Regions from separate parts of the Homo sapiens genome. Here all the other regions are linked to region 1. The links are contacts of gene promoters, found by promoter capture Hi-C in blood cells and fetal thymus (Javierre and others, 2016). All regions are on one chromosome and are shown on one strand. The core of a region is centred on a gene start or on the middle of the fragment in contact, and the rest is flanking DNA. Distances in the headings are between cores, read along the strand shown.

What was found. The method cuts DNA at HindIII sites, captures the fragments that hold promoters and counts their contacts. A CHiCAGO score of 5 or more calls a contact.
Region 2: a fragment that was not itself captured here is called in contact with the fragment with the promoter of ESM1 in region 1 in 2 of 17 cell types (endothelial precursors and activated CD4 T cells); the score reaches 6.0 in endothelial precursors.
Region 3: a contact is called between a fragment that was not itself captured here and the fragment with the promoter of ESM1 in region 1, in 2 of 17 cell types (activated CD4 T cells and non-activated CD4 T cells). The highest score is 5.6, in activated CD4 T cells.

The regions. Positions count from the first base shown.
Region 1 is chr5:54,983,059-54,987,518 of GRCh38, reverse strand. It overlaps ESM1 (endothelial cell specific molecule 1), which reads left to right and starts at 1,926. Exons shown (of 3, transcript NM_007036.5): 1 at 1,926-2,302. The coding sequence starts at 2,002. The HindIII fragment of the contact is 1,737 bases long and covers 1,510-3,246 here.
Region 2 is chr5:55,134,863-55,139,322 of GRCh38, reverse strand. The region is part of intron 5 of CDC20B (cell division cycle 20B); the gene reads left to right. Among named protein-coding and RNA genes, the nearest start is that of GPX8, 23 kb to the left of the region's middle. The HindIII fragment of the contact is 3,425 bases long and covers 249-3,673 here.
Region 3 is chr5:55,118,590-55,123,049 of GRCh38, reverse strand. It overlaps CDC20B (cell division cycle 20B), which reads left to right. Exons shown (of 12, transcript NM_001170402.1): 10 at 2,500-2,625; 11 at 3,132-3,249. Among named protein-coding and RNA genes, the nearest start is that of GZMA, 18 kb to the right of the region's middle. The HindIII fragment of the contact is 7,419 bases long and covers 1-4,460 here.

The sequences.
Region 1 (4,460 bases), core at 677-3,176:
AACCACTATTCCAGTTAACTACTCCTCAGAAAGTGGTGTTCAGTAACAAGGGACATTTTCTAGGGTCAGCCTAAATTGCGACCTAGGCCATTGGAACTATTGGCCATGAAAGCACAATTATGTATTGTAATAGGCAATAGAATATGTGGCTCTGACATTAGACTAACATCCATCCCTTCAATATAGGGACCTTAGGCAAATTAACCTCTTTCTTACTCAGTTTCTTCTTTTAAAAAATAAGCATGATAATAGCAGCCACTTCATAATATTGTGATGAGGTGCAAATGAGTTAATGCATGTAAAGTGTTTAAGCTATTAACTCAACAAATATTACCCATTACTGAAAACATCAGAGTGTGCCACCTGCTAAGTAAGTGCTTCTGGGGAGATAGAGTATTTCAAATTGGATTGTCATGAAAAATTTGGAAAATTTGAAAGCTAAAACTCTTGCTTTCATTTCCTACTGCCTCAATTCTCTGTATTCTGAATTTACTCCCTGTGTCCCCCTAAAATTGCATTTGCAAAAGCCGATCTTCAAGTTACATCCAATGCCCGCTCTGCCTCATCTTCTATGGGAAACAAGAATTTTAGAGGTCAGGTAGCCTAACACCATCAATTCTCAAAAGAGGAAGCTGAGGCCAAGAGAAGTCCTGTGAATTTCTTACAGCTCATTTGTGACAGACCAAGAATTACCCACTTTACTGGGTTGTTATTTACTAAGTGACAGTGAGTCTATATCTCTTTTGACAAGTGAGGTGGGGGCATGGAATTCGGCATGTGGTTGGTGTAAGAACTCCCCTCTCTCCTCTTTAACCTTACTTAATAAGACCCTGGCACAGTTGATATTTTAAGAGGGCTACTCTGTTTTCCCAGAGGGACCTAGGCACGGTAACCCTCTTAGCATGCAGACCTTGTTTCCTGAGGGGTAATGTTTCCCTTCCCTGTGACTTGTTTCTTGGGGGCTGTGTTCTGATTTTCCTGCTGAGCCACTTGTTGCCTTGGGCTGGCTGCCGCGCTTGGCAGTTTTTAGTGAGGGCTCTGATAGATGCCAGGAGGTGAGGGGAAGGGCTCTGGGTGGACTCCGTCATTGGACAAGCAGACTTAGTGATGGATGAGCCTTCCCCTGAGGAAGTTTTGGATCAGAAGTCCAACTGATAAGTTTTTCCAGAATTGAGTAACCCAGAAGCAGTGCCGAAAGGATCTTACCTCTCTTGTGGCTTTTTGTATTGATTTTAAAAGAAATTCTCAGAGGCAGTTCCACATTGTACTGGAAGCACAGCTATATCCACAATAGGCTTAGATATATGTAACATGAATTGCTTTAGAAATAACATTTGAGGAGAGGGGTGAGAGGAAGGAAGAGAGGGTCTTAAAAAATAGCCCTATCAAAATATTTTCTTTCTTCTAAGTATTGAAAAGACACAATATAACCCTTTCTTCTTTCAAATGATCTCATAGCTATTTGTTGAGGGGAAATACCAAATGTTTATTATTTTTTTTGAAGAAGCTTCTTCGGTCCTGATGATTCATGTTGATATCATTTTCCTCCTGACTACAGAGGCTCTGAGACAAAGCTACACCTCAAGTGATATGCCAGGGTCAGAACAATTCCCGTCCTGAAGGAGGGTGTGCAACCTTCTTTATCCCTCCTTCACAGACGTCCTTGAGCCCTTGAGACGGATGTGAGTGAGTTTTTCAGTCCTCATGCAAAACAACCATCTAAACATAACAGATGACATCAGCTTGGGCTTTTCAATTCCTGGATGGCAGCAGCGTGTTAATCCAGCCTTCATCCTGGATTTCATAAACCAAAACAAGAGAGCCTGGCAGGAGGACAGCGCTGCTGCTGGGTTGAGGAAATTGATGACGGGAAAGCATGCGGGCAACCCAGTGTATAAAACTCATAAACGTGTAGGCAGAGGCTCAGCTACCAGTTTGGACGGCTGCTTCCCACCAGCAAAGACCACGACTGGAGAGCCGAGCCGGAGGCAGCTGGGAAACATGAAGAGCGTCTTGCTGCTGACCACGCTCCTCGTGCCTGCACACCTGGTGGCCGCCTGGAGCAATAATTATGCGGTGGACTGCCCTCAACACTGTGACAGCAGTGAGTGCAAAAGCAGCCCGCGCTGCAAGAGGACAGTGCTCGACGACTGTGGCTGCTGCCGAGTGTGCGCTGCAGGGCGGGGAGAAACTTGCTACCGCACAGTCTCAGGCATGGATGGCATGAAGTGTGGCCCGGGGCTGAGGTGTCAGCCTTCTAATGGGGAGGATCCTTTTGGTGAAGAGTTTGGTATCTGCAAAGGTAAAGAGTGACCCCTTACCTCTCCCCTCCCGGGGCATGCTGAGAGCTTTTAGCCAGCTTGGGAGGTGAGGTGGCTTTGCTCCTCAAGAGTAAGAGGGAAAAGGCAGGTGGATTCTTGACAAGGCACCACACAGGTATTGTCATGGGTAGAGACTGAAGGATAGCTCCAAGTAGCAACTGAAACCAGTGTGCAGGAAGGCACAGAAAGAAGTGTGGCATTTTACTCGTTGCCTTAGGAGATCGCAAAAAGAAAGCTGCAATGGAAGATTGTGTTGGCTCCTTTTCTGGAAAACTTTAGAAACTTGACAGGTAATCTGTTAAGGATGGCTTAGGTGCTCTCTCCTCTGCGAGGCAGCGATTACAAAGGTCTGCACTAGATAACCTCTTGGAATGGTTTCTAGCCCCCAGATTTAGTGATTCTTTGATCTTGAAAGGGTCCACAGGATGGAGGGCCACTCTCAAGATCAAATATTTCTGATAAACACAAATGCACTTTATGGAATAGAGTGAGCTTAAGTCATCTAACAAAATAACTCACTCTTCAAAGAGGGTCCCCTGAAGCATAAAACAAACCTCATCTGACTTTATAAAGGTTTTGGTCATCTGGAAAAATAGCAGATGGTGTTAAGACAAGGAAAAATAACAATAGAGAAAAATAAAAACTGGAAGTCTGTAAAGAATGAGGTTGACCACTTGTACACTTAAAGAAAAACTTCGTCGGTTGAAATTTTAGCTAAATAATGTAGTTAAGCATTTGTAGAATTTATTTTAAACATAGTAACTAGTTTAAAATATTTAACATTTTAAAAATGTTTAGAATAAAAAGAATGATGATTTAAAAATACTCTACGTATAGATATCTCATGATCTTATTATGAAGAGCTATTATTAAGAAGCAACACATGCTATAACCCCATCCATCAGTTGTGTAATACCAGGAAGCTTTCAAAATTATAAAAAGGACTGAGAAATTTCTAAATAATTATTATGTTTTATGTATTTAATACATTTTTTATGAATAATATTTATCCAGTATTGTGCTAATCTCATTAATTCTCCTACTTCTTAGACATATAATGTATAAATTAATCATCTTTTAATTTGCAAGACATACAAAATTAAAAAAACAAATTCTTAAAGTATTAGGAGAGTTTTATTTTTTGCTTAGTTTATTTTTGTTTATATACAATAAGAAATAGAATATTGAGAAAATATTTTGTTTGGTGAACACATATGCATGTTTCTTTCAACTGAATAGGATCTGTATATTTTGTAAATTATGGGGCTTATTGACCAAGAAAACAGTACTTCACATAAGGAAATTAGGGAGGAAGTGGTTAACACAATCATACTTATGATATAGCATGTATATGCAGTGGATTGCTTTTTCTCTTGGCATAATATGCCTTTGTACATGTGATTGTAAATGTACATTACATATGGGCAAAGAAACAAGCTGTGTGGCATCTGGAGTCTTTAGCACTGTAGTATTCTACTGAATGATCAAGATACTAAAAAGATCTTTAAGATTGCTTCTTTTGGCTTTCTTCAGGTTGCTGATGAATCTAGTTTTAAGCATTTTTCTCTCTGCTGGAAATAGGAGACTTTGTGAGCCTTAGCAACTCGAGATAGAGATAATACATTTGGCAATCATCTCCCTTCTTCAGCTTTTTAAAAGAACATCCACGTGAAAACTGTAAACTTCAGCTGCGTATCCAAATGTCTTCTAAATATTCAGATGTCTGTGAACATCTTGCCCAGATTAACAATCAGCAGCCAACACATATTTAATGAACACTTACTATCTGCCCAGCACTGTTCAGTACATCAGGGGATACACTAGAAGTATCTCTGGGAATTTGGCTAAAGTTTTAGTTTTCAATATCGCTGCAGGCACAGTCAAATCCTAATCCTGTGTGCTTTTCTGGAACAGGCCTTTGCAGGATCCCTTTTTAAGATCTCTTCTTCCCAGCAAAGAGAACAGTGTTCAAAACCAGGTTCCTCTGTGATCTGAACCATATTGAAAAGAGCACTCATAGATCTCTTTAAAAAAAGATAGCTCATTGATGATCTACTTGGTCAGTTAGTGGAGTATTAGACTGCTAGAGACTCAGATGGCTCACAATTTGTTCTTTACCCACCTGTGATTGTACATTTA
Region 2 (4,460 bases), core at 712-3,211, 150 kb before region 1:
GTGCTCTTTCTGGGTTTGCTGGTCTGAAGATGTCCTTATTTTTCTTTTATGCTTGATTCATAGTTTGGCTGGCTATAAATTCTAGTCTCACTCAGAATTTTGACAATATTGCTTTATGGTTTTCTAGTATCCACTGTTGCTGTTGAGAAGTCATGTGTTAATTTGACTTCAACTTTGCTTTTTCTCTCTTGATGCTCTTAGAAAAGTCTTTTATCACCAGTGTTCTAAGATTTCATGATGATAAAGCTTGGCATTAAAAAAAAAAACTCATTGTAAATCAAAAGCCCATTGGTGGATATTTTCATTCTTGGAGATCCATATCCTATAGTTCTTGGAAAGTTGCTTGAATTATTTTTTAATATTTTTTTTATTGTCATTTATTTTTTCCTTCTTTATGAAATATCCTGGATTGACTCTCCAATTCTCTTATCTTTTATCTTCTATTTTTCATCTCACTTTTTTATTTTTAAACCTTTTGGGTGATTTCCTCAACTCTGTTCACCAACCTCGCTATGAAACTTTTTATTTTGGCTATCCTACTTTTAATTTTTTAAAAGCAATTTCTGTACTCTGTTCCTTTTTTTTTTTTTACAGCATCCTGTTCATGCTTCATGGATATACTATCTTCTCCTATATCTCTGACAATATTATTTTATAGATTTTTAGAAGTACTTCTGTGCTCTCTGTGTTGTTTTCCTTTGCTTTGGTTTTCTCTCCCTCCAACCCCCCATTTACTTTGGCTTCTCTCAGAGTGAAAACTTTCCTGAAAGGTGTGCTGTTTTAAAAATAGTACTAGGGTAAAGAGCTTAGTTCTCCTTTCGTAGGTTAAAGAGTACCAGGGTAAATTCAGTATAAAGATATTAGTATAGGCGCGGTGGGTCAAGCCTGCAATCTTAGCATTTTGGGAGGCCGAGGCAGTGGATCACTTGAAACCAGGAGTTCGAGACCAGCCTGGCCAACATGGTGAGACCCCATCTCTAGTAAAAACACAAAAATTAGCTGAACATAGTGGCTCACGCCTGTAATCCCAGCTACTTGGGAGATTGAGGCAGGAGAATCACTTGAACCTGGGAGGCGGAGGTTGTAGTGAGCCGAAATCACGCCACTGCACTCCAGCCTGGGCGACAGAGTGAGCTCTGTCTTTTTTTTTTTTTTTTAACTCAAAATCTATTTTTTTGTTTCATACATCTCCATGGTGCCTGGCGCTATTGAATTAAAAAATTGTCATTTTTATTTATCCAGAGAATAAACATCTGGTTTCTTCTGGTATATCCATATATGTGTGTCTGTATTTACTTGGTTGGGCAGGGTGTGTGTGTATGTGTGGGAACTTGACAGTCTTTTAACTAACCCACCTCTCAGTCTTCTCTGTGCCTCGGAGCCCTTGTGGGATTTTGCAAGGCAAATCAGCTTGTTTCTCTTCACTGTCTCCCTTTGCAGGCACTTGAGGGGTAGTTTCTTATGCTCTTCTTGGTCAGTTATTAATCCTTTATCCACTGTCTAGAAAATTATTGGGCTCTCTTGCCCACTGCTATATTCACTCCCATAGTGTTTGTTCTTGTGTCTTCACCCCTTAAAAAAGTCATTTGCTGTACTTAGGTTGAAAATAGGAGGCAGAGGAAATAAACTTACATGGCCATTCCTCCAACTTGACTTGACTTACCTATGTCTCTCCCCTTCCCATAGATCACTTTAGTGGCAGCATGAAGAAACGATTTGAACAGGAGGATGTTGGTGGCAAAGACTAATTGAGAGGCCCTCTGAATACTCTATGCAAGGCTCTGTTGTTGATTCTTTTAAGGGAACTTAAACTATGAAACAGATCCCACATAAGCCAAGTAATTGCTCATCAGTGGATCACGGGGACAAATGTTATCCAAATGCTGTGTATATAAAGCAATTCTTTATGCCTTGTCCATATCTAATGACTCTGAAACCTTACAGCAGGCAGCCCCTGTAAACTTTCAGGTGTACCTCTTTGCCGAAAGCTGGTAGGAAACTTTGGATGGTGGTGTTGTGAGCGTTATCAGGGAAGCTCTGTAGCCATGCAGTGGGGAGATAATTGCCTGTGGCAATTTCTAGAAGGTCCTGTTCCATGCTACATTTGGAGCTCTCAGTGCTTTCTTTCTTTTTTTTTTTTTTTTTTGAGACAGAGTCTCGCTCTGTTGCCCAAGCTGGAGTGCAGTGGCGCGATCTCAGTTCACTGCAACCTCTGTCTCCCGGGTTCAAGCGATTCTCCTGTCTCAGCTTGGGATTACAGGCACACACCACCATGCCCAGCTAATTTTTGTATTTTTAGTAGAGAAGGGGTTTCACCATGTTGGCCAGACTGGTCTCCAACTCCTGACCTCAGATGCTCCACCCGCCTCAGCCTTCCAAAATACTGAGATTATAGGCATGAGCCACTGTGCTTGGCCTCCCAAAGTCTTTTGACCCTGAGCCCCATGTGTTTTCATTCCTACTTTCTGTTGCCATCATGGACGTTTTTGTGTTATTCATGAGATTATTGTCATGGCTGGAAAATAATTGTTTGGGAGCCAGAATTCTGTGTGAGAATCCTCTTGAGAGAACTAGCGTGGTTCATTTCATAAATGCCAAGGAAACTTGCCTGCTACATTTCCCCTCTGGAATAAGTTCTGGTAAGCATATCCATGGGGTGCTTTGGCAAGGTCTCAAAAATAAATGTGAACAAGGAGACAGAAATCCTCAATGCTAAAGTAGACTTCTATTTTTATGGCTTGTCCTATTTTTTTTTTTTTTTTTTGAGATGAAGTCTTGCTCTATCGTCCAGGCTGGAGTGCAGTAGTGTGATCTTGGCTCATGGCAACCTCCACCTCCCGGGTTGAAGCAATTCTCCTGCCTCAGCTTCCTGAATAGTGGGGATTACAGGCCTGTGGTACCACACCTGGCCAATTTTTGTACTTTTAGTAGAGGCAGGGTTTCACCATGTTGCCCAGGCTGGTCTTGAACTCTGGCCACAAATGATCTGCCCACCTTGGCCTCCCAAAGTGCTGGGATTACAGGTGTGAACCACTGCACCTGCCGTGTCCCAATTTTTTATTAAAAATATTTTTTGGGGCTGGGCACAGTGGTTCACGCCTATAATCCCAGCACTTTGGGAGGCCGAGGCAGGTGGATCACGAGGTCAGGAGTTCGAGACCAGCCTGGCCAACATAGTGAAACCCTGTCTCTACTAAAAATACACACAAAAATTAGCCAGGCGTGGTGGCGGGTGCCTGTAGTCCCAGCTACTCGGGAGGCTGAGGCAGGAGAATTGCTTGAACCAGGGAGGCGGAAGTTGCAGTGAGCTGAGACCGTGCCACTGCTCTCTAGCTTGGCTGACAGAGTGAGACTCTGTCTCAAAAAAAAAAATATTTTTTTTGGAAATTTTCTTTTAAAAATTATGTAGATAACACATAGATACACACTTTTAACTTCTAAATACAGAGGTGTCCAATCTTTTGGCTTCCCTGGGCCACATTGGAAGAAGGATTGTTTTGGGCCACATATAGAATACACTAATACTAAAGATAGCTGATGAGCTAAAAAAAAAAAAAAAAAAAAAATCACAAAAAAATCTCAGTGTTTTTACAAAGTTTACAAATTTGTGTTGGGCTGCATTCAAAGCCCTCCTGGGCTGCATGTGCCCTGTGGGCTGCAGATTGGACAAGCTTCTAGCTAGAACTTTGTGCATGTTTATTCCTCAAGCGTCTGTTTCCCAGCAGTAAAAAGGGGAAAAAAATTGAGTTAGATGCATAAAAATAGGCACAAAATTTCAGGCCTTCTAAATGTTCTTTTGGGGGTTTGGGAATATATGGTTGGGATGAGAGTGTGAACCTTGTCTTTTCCTTAGAATGATATTTTCTTAAAAGCAAAATAAAATATGTGGGGACATGTCTTTCCTCAGCTCCCTCGTCTTTTGTCCTAAACAGCAACAAGTTTTTGTTTCTGTAAGGTGCTGAGTATTTGGCTTAGAATAAAAAAATATATGTTCTATGAAGCCAGAGATAATGTACCTATATTATTCTGATATTTTAGGAGTCTCTCTCTCTCCCTCTCTCTTTCTCTCTCTGTATATATATATATATAGACACACACACACACATACACTTTATTATTTAGATTTGTTTTAGGTTCACAGCAAAGTTAGGCAGAAGGTGCAGGTTCCCTTATATCCCTTGTCACCACACATGCACAGCCTCCCCCGTTATCAACATCTCCCACCAGAGTGGTACATTTGTTACAATCAATGAACCTACACTGACACATCATGGTCACCAAAAGTCCATAGTTTACATTAGAGTTCATTCCTGATGTTATGTATTCTATGGGTTTGACCAATGTATAATGACATGTATCACTATTATAGTATACAGAATAGTTTCATTTCCCTAAAAATGCTCACTGCTTTGTCTGTTCATCCGTCTCTCCCCTTCCCATAGAAACCTTTTTACTGTATC
Region 3 (4,460 bases), core at 930-3,429, 140 kb before region 1:
TGTTCAAGGTTTCTGTTTATAGTATCTGTCTGGTTATCTATTGCTGTGCAACAAATTACTCAAAAACTTAGTGGCTTAAAACAATAATCATTTCATTATCTTTTATGGTTTCCTGGGTAAGGATTCTGGGAAAATGTCATCTGAGCAGTTCTGGCTCAGGATCACTCATGAGGTTGCAGTCAGACAGCATCGGAAGCTAAAAGTGTGGGAGGCTGGACCACTTGTTTGCCAGCTGCCTGGGCATGCTCCTTCTTGTAATTCCAGAGCATCTTCATGTTGTGTGGGCTGATTTGGGTTTCCTCACAACATGGTTGCCTCAAGCCAGTTGGGAGTTTGTGCTTCAGGGCAATAGGTCCAGTGCTTCAGAGAGCAAGGTGAAAGCGTTAACACCTTTTATTAATATAACCTAATTTTGCAATTCATGCAGTGTCACTTTTGTCACATTTATTGGTTCCAGGATAGTCACAAGTCCCACATTCAAAGGTAGAGGAATTAGATTGTACCTATTGATGGAGGGAATGGGCGAGGCTCAGAAGGACTTGTTGGATGAAAGACAGTGTTGTAGCTATCTTTGGAAAATACAATCTGCCGCAGAATCTTTAAAATAGAGTGAGGCCAGGTGCAGTGGCTCATGCCTGTAATCCCAGCACTTTGGGAGGCTGAGGTAGGTGGATCGCTTGAGCCCCAGGGAGATTGAGGCTTCATTGACCCTTTGTGGTAGCACTGCACTCCATCCTCGGCAACAGAGTGAGACTGTGTCTTAAAAAAAAAAAAAAGAGAAAAGACTTCCAAATTGTTTAATTTAGTTCATAGAAGTAACAGTCATCTTTAGTCCAAATAAAGTAGGTGATTTAATTAAACATTTACATGTAATTTGATGAAATCACAGTTATAATAACAAGTTCACCTGTCATAAACAGGTTTGGCAAAACACAGTGGGCTCTATAAACCCACAGCTTAATTAGTGGGAGTAGAAGTGTGGAGCATTCTAGAGAACAGAAGACTAGCATGCTATGGGTAGGAGTAAGTATGTTTTACAGAAGGAGTGGAGAACTTTGGTAAATTTAGCAAGTTGGTTAAATGAAGAATGAGAGCAACTATTGTATATTCAGATGTATGTTTTTAAAAAATGGACTCAAACTTGTAAGAAAAGCGTTAAGATGTAGGTGCTTAGATGGCAAAAAATCCACATGGTGGGAAGTGCTAGAGGAACATAAATACACAGAAAAAAGTTCATTCTTGCTAAGAAGAAAATAAATTACCCTTATAATCTGTTTTGTAATGATTTTAATTTCACTAGATGTAAAATAACATTTTTAACTTCATGTAACCTTTAGCCAGGGTGAAATTAGTATACTCATTGGATGCTGGTGCTGTAAAAAGTTATAACTGCTTGGAAAACTTTATGTCAACTCTTTTGAACCTTGGAATTTACTTAAAAAATTTGTCAGAAAAAAAGACATGTAGAATGTATTCATTACAATGTACTTTATGAGAGCAAACAGCAAATAAAACACACGCACAAAAACAAAAAAAATACTCCTTTCCAAAAAAAATTAACCCAACCCAATACAAATCAAACCACAATACAACAAAAAACCAAAACAGGTCCAGCATTAGCAGAACAAAAATTAATCAGGATATAACGACACGATGGAATATTATGGGATTGTTAAAAATTATAATTGTGAAAAGTCTATTAAAACGTGGAAAACTGTTTATACAATAGGTGAAAACAACAGAAAATAATCAAATAGTATAAACACGATGTTTGCTACTTTATAAAATATTTTTATGTGTAGAAGAGAGGATGCAAAAATGAGGGTAGTTACCAAGATGATTGATAAGGATACACAGATACATATAACTGTAGTATTTGTTAAAATGTCCTTTAAAGTGATTATTATTAGTAATTTCAATTATCAATATAAATGTGTGATACTAAATCCTATTTTTTAGAATTAACTATAATTATAAATAAATAGAAGGCAATTTTATTTTCTGAACTGCTTTAAGATTTGAAGTGCTTGAGACTGTTGAGTTGTGAGCAATCACATATAGTTCTCTTTTCTCTTATCTGACCACTACCTGGAACATAAGGACACAGGTAGACAAATCAGAGAAAGCCTGCATTTTCAGAGCCAATTTGCAAGGGCACATGTGAACTATCCCAGCAGCAGATTTTTGCCCCATAGGATGTATTGCATGTAGTTTTTCAACTGTTATTGCATAGTCTATGTTAAAAAATCCACAATTGTTATCATCATTTGATAACAATTTGATTTGAGTCGTATTAGGTACCTTCCCTTCCAGAAGTGACTGCTAGTCCCTGAGGAATAATCTCTGGAGGGTGCAGTTGCTCCTGCCTTTAGATAGCAGGCCCAGGAGAGCTGTGACAGGTGCAGACGTGGGGACTTGCTGCTTACCTAAGTGCATCACATTCATGAGTGCACCTCCTTTGAAGCTGACCTGTCTGTGCTATTATGTGAAACTTTAAAGGCCATGGATTGGTGTCCCTGGCAGTCTGGGGTCCTTGCCATTGGAGGAGGAATGAAGGATGGACGCTTACACATCTTGGATATAAATGCTGGGAAGAGCATCCAGACCCCAAGCACAAACTCACAGGTTAATATCTCCTCTGGGCTTCATCTTCATTTTGATCTTCTGGAATCTTGTGAAAATAGTTTACAACAGAGCCTATGCCCCCAACAAGCTCTCTTTCTCTATTGAGTCCATAAGGAATTTGAGTTCTCAAGAGTTTCTTTTTATTGTAAAAACCTCTTCATTTGTGAGTTCAAAGTTAATATAATTTGTGTTTTCTTTTTTTCACATTTCCTTTCTTTCCCCATCACTGCTTTGACCATGAACTTTGAGAGTAATCTGGCTCTTCCTGGCCAATGATCACAGTTCACTTAAATTCTTCAATTTATTGCACCTAAGCCTATTTGTATACTTGATCCTTTGTTGCCTTGGGATAAACTTTCCTAGAATGGTTGTAATTTCTTTAACATCCTACCCCAGCTGTACTGGAGGTTGGGTCATGGACAGTGCATACTGCCTGTAACCAGTTTAACTATATTCATAAGGAATCAGAAATTGCAAGAATTCTCTATTTTTGATCATTATTACAGATTTGTTCCTTAATCTGGCTACCTAAGACAAAGGAGATTGCAACTGGTCAAGGTACTCCCAAGAATGATGTGACTGTGTGGACCTGTCCCACTGTGTCCAGGTCAGGTGGGTTTTTTGGTAAGCAAATGGGTGAGTAAAATGCCATGCACCTATAGCAAAGTGAGCTGTTGTTGGGGGGAAAAGCCCTGAATGAAAGATTTTATCCTTCTGGTTTTTCTAAGTACACATTTCATCAGAGGAAAAAGTCCTACATCCACCCTACCTCAGAGAGCGTATAGTTGAATGTTTCTGAATTTGCCTAAGATTGTTCATCACTTTAAATTAAGTCATCTCCTCCTTGCATATGTATATGAATGATGGAGTGGTGATCTTGGGCAGTTTTTGAACTCGAGTTAGCATCACAAATCATCTTATTTTGAAGAAAAACCAGCGGTGTAGAATGGGTGGAAGATAAAGCGATCTGAAAGGGCAAGACATTATGTGTCAGGAGGCCACTAATGACCATGAGCTTCCTCTGTGAACATCTGCCCTTTCAAGGTAGACCACTACTCTTCTCAGCTTCGTTCTACAAACTTTTACTGGGTACTTCTTGAGAGAAAGACCCCATGATGGGGAGCAAGACCCAGGCCCTGTCCTCTGGGCCTTAAATCCTCTTTTGTGCATCTAGAATGTTAAAGGGGGCTCAAGGGTGAGTAGAGTATCTCCTCTACCCAGCCCAGGGAAACAGGAAGACAAAACTGGTGGTCGATGCAAGAACAGGGCACCGGCATCCAATCTCTTGTAGAACTCTGATTATATATCCCGTCTTTTTCCTCTGTTCACTCACCTGGCCTCCTGGCCAATCCCTGAGGTTTACTTATTGATTATTTATTTATGAAGCATCTATTATGTGGGAGGTACTTTTTGGGGTGCTGGGGATACACAGGTGAACAAGAGAGACAATGTTCTTGCCCTCAGGGAGCCTACACTTTTGTGAGAGGAGACATGCAGAAAACAAATATATGCAATGTTAGGTAGTGATAATACCATGACTCTCTTTGGAGATTCTGAGAATATTAGTGGGCAACAATGAAACAGCCTTATCAGATAGACTTCCTGCCTCTGATGATGAGCCCGACTGGACCTCAGCCTCAGAATGACCTTTGTATTCTTCAGCTGTCACACTCTGTGGCCTGGATCAGAATACAGGGAACTCTTAGCAGAGCCATTTTGGTGATCAGGTGCAAGTGTAGGAAGAGCATGAGTCAATCCTCATATTTTTAATCAAAAGACATGCAATTCCCTGGACCTTTTCAGATTAGAGAAGTATTGTAAATCAAGCCTTAAAA